2 separate regions of the Homo sapiens genome follow, and region 2 is linked to region 1. Evidence: promoter capture Hi-C in 16 types of primary human blood cells and fetal thymus (Javierre and others, 2016). All regions are on one chromosome and are shown on one strand. The core of a region is centred on a gene start or on the middle of the fragment in contact, and the rest is flanking DNA. Distances in the headings are between cores, read along the strand shown.

What was found. Contacts are between HindIII fragments. The CHiCAGO score rates a contact against its expected background, and 5 or more counts as called.
Region 2: a contact is called between a fragment that was not itself captured here and the fragment with the promoter of ARL6 in region 1, in 8 of 17 cell types (activated CD4 T cells, total B cells, naive CD4 T cells and 5 more). The highest score is 8.5, in activated CD4 T cells.

Annotation. Positions count from the first base shown.
Region 1 is chr3:97,762,509-97,766,914 of GRCh38, forward strand. It overlaps ARL6 (ARF like GTPase 6), which reads left to right and starts at 2,250. Exons shown (of 8, transcript NM_001278293.3): 1 at 2,250-2,469. RefSeq lists enhancers at 1,581-2,082, 1,718-2,257, 2,083-2,582, 2,298-2,407. The HindIII fragment of the contact is 6,880 bases long and covers 1-4,406 here.
Region 2 is chr3:98,050,634-98,055,039 of GRCh38, forward strand. It overlaps the pseudogene OR5BM1P. Among named protein-coding and RNA genes, the nearest start is that of GABRR3, 18 kb to the left of the region's middle. The HindIII fragment of the contact is 1,003 bases long and covers 1,805-2,807 here.

The DNA of each region.
Region 1 (4,406 bases), core at 1,000-3,499:
TGCCTCAGCCGCTTGAGTAGCTGGGATTCCAGGAACGTGCCACCACACCCGGCTAATTTTTGTATCTTTAGTGGAGATGGGGTTTCACCATGTTGGCCAGGCTGGTCTTGAATTCCTGACCTGGTGATCCACCTGCTTCAGCCTCCCAAAGTGCTGGGATTACAGGCGTGAGACACCGGGCCTGGCAGCCTTTATGTTTTTTTAAGTTTAATATTTTCAAGGCTAACATTTTTTTCTAGATTATTTTACTGCTTTATTTCATAACATTTATCTCTAGTAATAAGCCATCTATCAACTATACTTATCTAAGATAACGATTTGACTAGCTACATTTTTGTAGAAGAATTATCTATCTGCCTTGTTTTCCTGAAAAGTTGGATGCTCAATATGTCCATTTTATTTCCAGTTTTCACCAAATGTTTTATATTAAGCCAAAAGAGATGAACTCAACCTAGAGGCAGAAAATATCAACTTTTAGCAGGAAAAATTGAGTCTGTCCATGAAAGTTTTCTGAAATATAACATTTCTGCCGATCGCTAAGAAAAAAAAATGTTATATTTTGGCCGCAAGCACATTAGCTTCCATCTCTTACAAGTAAGTCACAACACCCAGGCACACAGAAAAGTGTTCAACACCTCCCTGTCAATGCATTCACGATTAGAAGTTCAGAAGTTAAAGAACCACCATAGTTACGGTTTGGGTCAATTTTGTTTACACAATAAAAAGCTCAAGACAAAAGAAGACAGGACATTATTTATTGAACAATAAATATGTGCCAAACATCTGTATTTCTGTTATCTTTAATACTCAGAACTACCAGATAAGATAAATACTATATTTTTGAAGGTGAGGATAGAAGCACGGAGAAGGGTAAATTGGGCTAAGACCACACAGTAAGAAAGAATGTATTTCCATACTCCATTTTTACAAGGACATTTATATGTTGATATGCATCCATAGGGTCTTTGTTTTGTTTTTGTCTTTCAACAAGAATCACTAATCCAGAGCCGCTTTTGTTTTTTCGCTGTAAAAATGACAATTACATTTGGAAATTTGGAGAAGTGACAAAAGATAAATCACCCCATAATCACACGCTTACAACCGTCCCCCCTACCATATTACTTTGAAATAATTCCTTCTAGTCTCTTTTTGCACCCTCCTAGTCCATTTAATAGGCCAAATGAATTGACAGGCCAAAGAACAGGCAGTGCAGTAAACATACACTAGCTAGTTGAAAAGGGTCGCGCGGTGGGGGGCAGGGGGTCGGAAATCCTACACCCATGCAAACAAAAAAAATGAAGAGATACAAACCCCTATTTGAAGAATGAGGCCATTCGCTGGGGGTGAGGTTAGTGGAGTTGGGCAGATTGAAAGGCTAGATCTTTAAAATGACTGCATCTGTAATGTGTCCGTTGGAAAACGCAGTAATAAAAGATGTGGGGAAGGGTATGCCTAAATATTTTCTATTTGAAGACCATTTGTGACTATGACTATAAAATCCAAGTGCAATTTAAGAAGGTGGTCAACTTTAAGTATTGACTATTAATACCTTTCCTGACCACCTGCCGATTTGATTCTGGAGACTGTAATCTACTCACAGGAGATTATGCCTGGTAGAAATCTCTTCGGGAGACCACACAACTAAGAAGCAGGGGTACAGGCATACTTTATTAGCCGAATAACACCTTTTGACTTTTTACACCAGTTCTCCCCTCTACCTTCCTGTATTAACAGTTTTACCTCTACAGGGACTCAGGGTGGGAGGCCTATCAGAACCCAGAGAAGAGTCGGTGCGATGGGCAACTGGGGAACTCCGGCGCACATCTTGCCCCAGGGGGGACAGTATCGTCTTGCAGTCGTTGCCACAACGCTACGCTGGTGCCCGGTAACGACACTCTCCGCGCCACACCCAGCGCCAGCCTCTTGGATCCCCAGGAAGACCAGGGCCGAGCGACAAACACGCAGCACACGCGAACGCCAAACGCTTCCCAGAAAGCTGTGCGCGAGCCTACAACTCCCATGATGCTACGCCGGGAACTGCCCGGCTCCTCGCAGGAAATAGGCAGCTCACCCTGCCACCTGTGCACACATTTTTCTTCAATGTATAGTTCCTCGGCGCGCCTCTGACCTTTTCCCGGAGCTCTTCAATCCCAGAAGCTATAGCACAACGGCTGAATCGCCAGGACCCCCGGGGAGGCGTGGCTTCAGGACCGGAAGAAGCTCCTGTTGCCAAGGGAACGGTGCCTGCCAAGGCGCCTGCTCAGCGACTGATGCACAGACTGCTGCAGAGGCTGCCGGTTTTCCCAACTTCTAGAGACGGCTTTGCTCATTACCAGGCATCCTTCCCATGTAGGCATCGAGAAGAAGGCTGAGGGACCCTCGCACCAGATTTCCATCCCGGAGACCGATACGAGTGCGTCCATTCCTGTTGCCAGCTCCTGCGCCCTCCGGACTAACCTCAAAAACCAGGTATCTCCTCAACGCCGGTTTTTAAAGCCAGCGCCACCCTCTGTCCCCGTCAGTTTTAGAATTCCTCTTTGGTCTTTCCCATGTTTTTCACTCCACGCGTGTAGTTGTTGCTAATGTATGAGAAGTAGAAAAGAAGGTGAGTTATAGAGGCCCTAGAAAACTTACTAAACTGGTTTGGACGTATGTTTGGTTGATGGGTTTTAACAATGCTCAACTTAGACCCGTGTATTGGGGGTGTGTGTGTGTGTGTGTGTGTGTGTGTGTGTGTGTGTGTAAGTGTAATTTAAATTATATCATAAAAAACTGAAAGCCGAATAAGAATGTTTATTTGGGGTAATAAAAGTAGGCAACATTTCAATCAACAAACACTTTACAGAGTTTACTAAGTATCATTCGTGGTGTTTTCTCTGGGCTACCACTCTGTCTCTGCAGCTTACCCTCTAAGCTGTTAACTGTGGATAACATCCTAATTCTTCTGGACTTCTCTGGCAATATGTAATCCTTTAGGAAACAGTCTGTCAGACAATAACCAAGAGAATTTGGCTGGTGTGCAAAGAGAGGGTTACAGTAAGATAAGAAACAAGAAAGGAAGATTGGAGCCAGATTGTGGACAACCTTAAAAGCTGTGCTTGGAAGTTTGAAACTACTGGCTTTATTCTGAAAGCCAGTAGTTCTCAATAGTAACTTCACATCAGAAACACTGGGTAGCTTTTAAAACTACAGATGCCCTGATCTTATTTTCAAAAATTCGGATTCAGCAATTGATTTCAGAGTGCAGCCAGGGTTGAGAATCATGGCTATCAGAGTAGGAAGCTGCAGAAAACAGTTGTGTCTCTCGCTGCACACTTAAGACACGATTAACAAATATTGACTGGCTTCAATTATCTTTTATTTATGCATGCAGAAAGTCAACTTATGGAAGGAAAATTATAACTACTTGAAACGTAGAAGTTTAAAGGCTCTATGATAGTTGTTTATAAAGCAATTTCAATAAATGTGATTACCTCTTTTAGAAAAACTGCCTGCTCTTCTAAATTGTGTGTCCCAAAATATTTCATTAACAAGTATCAAGTGATAATCCATGGAAAAGTGATGGAAAGTCACAATACAAGGTACTGTGAAAAACGAATATTCAAGCATCAGGCTTTAAACACTCAGTGCTTTATAGTAGATGCTTAAAGGGGGGAAAATGTGAGAAGTTGTCGTTTTTAAAACATAAGTTCTAAATTATGAAATGGAGAACAAGATATAAGCATTTATATCAATATGTTTATGCAGTAAATAAAGTGAGTAATAGCAAATTTACTTTGAAATCAAATGGTATGTGTGAATTGCTTCATGACATCAGAAGGTTAATTTAAAATAGATTTTACAAATGCTGGTCCTTAAGCTGTAATTTAAAGAAATGGACTGAATAAGATTTGAATCTCTGATACAAGGAGAAAAGCAGATTGAAGTGGCACAAATGGAAGTACCTGAGGTCAAACTCATCCTTGGGGAAAGACAAACGTGGTTCTGTAATAGGCCTCACCTTTTGGCATGGCACTGTTCCATCTCTTCTCTGCACATCACTGAAATTTAGTTTTGAAATTTCTACCCATAATCATATCCCAAAAGGCCTAAGCAAAATGTTGACTATGCAACCTCCTTTTAGATACAGTTGTCTTGGAAGCCTGTTATTGATAAAGTTGCTGCAGCCTCACATCCTTCAAGGTATGGCCTTGCCTGAAATTGTATGGAATAAAAAGTATTGAAGAAACTGTAATATGACAGGTTGCTTATGCAACCTTAGATGGAGATGAGAATAAGTCAATTTAATGAGAATAAAAACATTAGAGAACTAATGTTGGTGAGTAATGAGAAATATTTGGTACATAGATATATTGTAGCAGTTCCTGCAGCAGTTGGGGGCTGGAAAAAGGGATCTATCTCCCTGT
Region 2 (4,406 bases), core at 1,056-3,555, 290 kb after region 1:
CACTGCACTCCAGCCTGGGAGACAGAGTGAAATAATTAAAGTCACCACCATTTAATGATTCCTTACCTATCTATCAAGTACAGGGGTGAGGGCTTGACATTCATCTTCTCATTTGATTCTTGCAACAACTTTGTAAGTGCACATTATTAACTTTATTTCACAAGTGAGGAAACCAAGGTTTAGACATTTTAAGTTATTTGACCAAAGTCTCAGAAGCAAAGCCACCAAAACTGCCTTTTCCAAAGTCTGTGCTCTTAATCAGCTTTGCTATTTTTCCTTCCCCATGTCTATAAACAGACGCTCCAATTTTAGTGAATATACCCACAGTGAACCTTGATGACGTTAAACATGGTTTCAATTGTTAAAGTAACTTTCTGATAAATTGCAATATCTGGCATGGAACATGAACTTCCTTTTTTTTTAAAAAAAAAATTATGTTGGCTTTTTTTTTTTACACATTTGCTTTTCCAGATAAATTAGAATTTTCTAGACAAATTACCTCCGTATGATTTTGTATAAAATTATATGAAATTTATGTTTATTTGTGAAAGTTAAGTTTTAATAGATTGAGCTTTCCTATTCAGCCACAATTATGGAATTTTATACATTATGCCGCTTACATATGGGAAAATGCTCAACATCACTAATTATGGGGGAAATGCAAATCAAAACCACAATGCGATACCACCTCACTCCTGCAAGAATAAAGAAAAAAAAATTAATGTTGACGTGGATGTGGTGAAAAGAGAACACTTTTACACTGTTGATGGGAATGCAAACTAATGCAACCACTATGGAAAACAGCGTGAAAATTCCTTAAAAAATTAAAAGTAGGCCGGGCGCGGTGGCTCATGCCTGTAATCCCAGCACTTTTGGAGGTCTAGTGGGGTGGATCACGAGGTCAAGAGATCGAGACCATCCTGGCCAACATGGTGAAACCCTGTCTCCACTAAAAATACAAAAAATTAGCCGGGCGTGGTAGTGGGCGCCTGTAGTCCCAGGTACTCGGGAAGCTGAGGCGGCGTCAACCCAGGAGGCGGAGCTTGCAGAGAGCCGAGATCGCACCACTGCACTCCAGCCTGGGCGACAGAGCAAGACTCCGTCTCAAAAAAAAAAAAAAAAATTAAAAGTAGATCTACCATTTGATCCAGCAATCCCACTGCTAGGTATCTACCCAGAGGAAAAGAAGCCATTATATGAAAAAGATACTTGCACACACATGTTTATAGTAGCACAATTTGCAGGTGCAAAAATGTGGAACCAGCCCAAATGCCCATCAATCAACAAGTGGATAAAGAAAATGTGAGATAGATAGATAGATATAACGGAATACTACTCAGCCATAAGAAAGAATGAAAGAATGGCATTTGCAGCAACCTGGATGGAATTGCAGACTAATATTCTAGGTGAAGTAACTCAGGAATGGAAAACCAAACATTGTATGGTCTCACTTATATGAGGGAGCTAAGCTATGAGGACACAAAGGCATAAGAACGATACATTGGACTTTGGGGACTCGGTGGAAAGTGTTGGTGGTGGCGAGGGATAAAAGACTACACCTCGGGTACAGGTTACAGGCTACACTGCTTGTGTGATGGGTGCACCAAAATCTCAGAAATCACCACTAAAGAACTTATTCATATAACCAAACACCAACTGTTCCCCAAAACCTTTGGAAATAAAAAAAATTAAAAATTAAAAATCCCAATCGTTCTATGTATTTTTACTGTTGTTTTTCACTAACTCTAAAACTTTTCCTTAAATTTTCCATTATTGTGCCTTAATTTTGAGTTAACAAAGCAGAAGCTTTGAGAAAACGAGTTTCAGGCCTGCACAGACTTGGGAAGTGAAGACTTTAGCTACAGTTATACAGAATTGGTGACTAGTTAATAGAAATAAAAATATGTCACGTTGTAACACCTACTGGCTGGCCTTGTCATTAAACCTTAAGAGTTGTAAATCTAATACTTATAAATGTTCCCTTGAATGGTTGTATACTTAGGCCTACTGTTTTATAAGTAGGTAGTTCCTGCTTTAGATCAACAAGGCAGGGATTTGAATATGTAAAACATATTTTATGTCCGGAATTATGCAAAGTTTGTCATTAAAGACATGTATTGATGATACAGACATATTTTTTCACCCTGTGTTTCCACAGGATCTCGTTTAGTTTCCTTTCCATTTACTTTCCAGGCTTGTAAAACTCATGGATACACTTTTAGCTTGAGGCTTTTTCTGCATTGCCTTACCTATGTTTATGTTAGTCATTGCCTATTAATTTGGTTAATCCTTTCTCCCCATTTAATTTGTTATTTAAATAAAATTTATAATTTACTATTTAACTTATCACTTAAATTGAATCCAGATATTCAAAACACTGGCCATTCTTTCTACTATGATGTTTTTGTAATGTTTTATTCCACCTTGACTGTGATAGTCCCGTTTGTAATACCAAGAGGATCAGATCATTTTTTGTTCTAGAAAGATAAAAAAGTTCCTGAAAGAATGAGAAAATACACTTTTGAACCCAAAACAAAGTCTCATTTTCTAAGATTTTGGCATAAAATATACCGTGTACCTTTTGCTCTTAAAACACTTCGTTGTTAATACATTCAATTTTAAGGTACTTATGAGTGGCAGGCTATGGGACTAGTTAGTTCTTGTCTAGAATCTCCTCTATAACCCTCAAGAAATAATATGTATTTTAAAAAAATCTTACCATTTTTTCAGTGTACAATATACAATTTCTTACATTGATCCATTTATTAACTCATTAGTGATTTTGTGGTTTTCACTGCTTTTATACAAGCTTTTGCTTTTATGATCATCATAGTTTCTTATACCCAAGTCCTCTTTGCCTTACTGAAAAAGAATTCTGAGAAGGGCAGAAGCAAAAGCTTCCTCATGTGCAGTGCCCACCTGCTCTCTGTCTCTTTGTTCTATAGCAGTGTCTTCTTCATGTATGGGTGCCCCAGGTCTGGCCCAGATTAACAGTGGAATGAAATGTATTTTCCGTTCTACATGATTATAATTCCTCTGCAGACTCCTTTATTTACAGTATGAAAAACAAAGAAGTTTTAGGTACACTTAGAACAATGATAAAGAAATATTTTTGGAGAACACTTTCATAATTCTTTCCATTTCCTTTCTGTTAAAACAAATCGTAATAATTGTTTCTGTGTTTTACACATAGTAGGGACACAATATGTTAAGTGAATGAATAAAAAAATTTAGACTAAATATTCTTGTCTTAGTTATAAGTTATTCTGATCATTAAAATAGTTAATGAGCATTTAAGGACAAACACCACATTTTTGTTGTTGTTTTAAGTACATACTCAAGGATGAAGTTCAAACTGAAATTATAATGCCACATTACTGTTTTTGTAACATGAATGAAACACAAGAGTTCATTCATTTTACAAAGACTTAGTAACAAGTTTTTGTAACATGAATGAACTACATGAAATACAGACATACATGTTTTAGAACTTACTTGCAGTTATTTAAAGGAAGACCCCACCTATATAATTTAAAAAGTGTTCAAAGTATTCATGCACTTCTAAATAATTCTTGAACAAGGCATTTTTCAAACTTTCTCTTTAGCAGATATTTATAATAATATATCAGAATGTTAATAAAAATAATACTGTTAGGCCAAATATGACAACACATATCCTCTTAAAACATTTAAAACTAAGATTTCCATTTGGTTTAAAAGCAATTTTGAAAAGTAACATGTTTCATTGCCTCCATTGAAAGATATGTAAATGTAACAACAAAAATACTAAAAGTAATTCAAATTTCTGCAATATAGTTAGAAAATTTCTGAGTTCTTCTAAAACTTTTACTTTTTAATTTATTGAGTAGTCCTACTGAGCACTGCATTCCTGACACACATATCCTACCTGAATAGTGTTTTCTGGCATTGACACCTGCCTGAACCAGCAGGTGTGCTTGATCAACTGTCAGTTAAATATATTAAGCTAATTTTTTTTCTTACCTACATTGTGTATATATTCTATCTGGCCCTTTCATGAGTAGGCAAACTTTGACCTCCTTACTTTTATTACTTAGACTCTTGAGAATACTCAAGAGAGTATTCTCTTGAGAAAATACTCAAGAAAGATTTTTCCATATGCATAATACATTGCTTTTACCCTGGCTTTAAAAAAAAGTGAAGAAATGGCAGTTTGTTGAATGATATAACCCAAAGCCCCAAATGAGGCACAGTGGCTTTAGGAATAGTTTGTTAGGGTTCAGTTTTTTCAGAACCCGGTTCCTCTCATTGCATCTGAGCTGTGCCTTCTGCTGTGGGGACTCCATTTTAAGCAGGTGTACCCTGTGGCTGCAGAATCTCTGCAGGAGTTCCTGTCTCCATCTCTCTATAGTCAACCCCAGCGACAA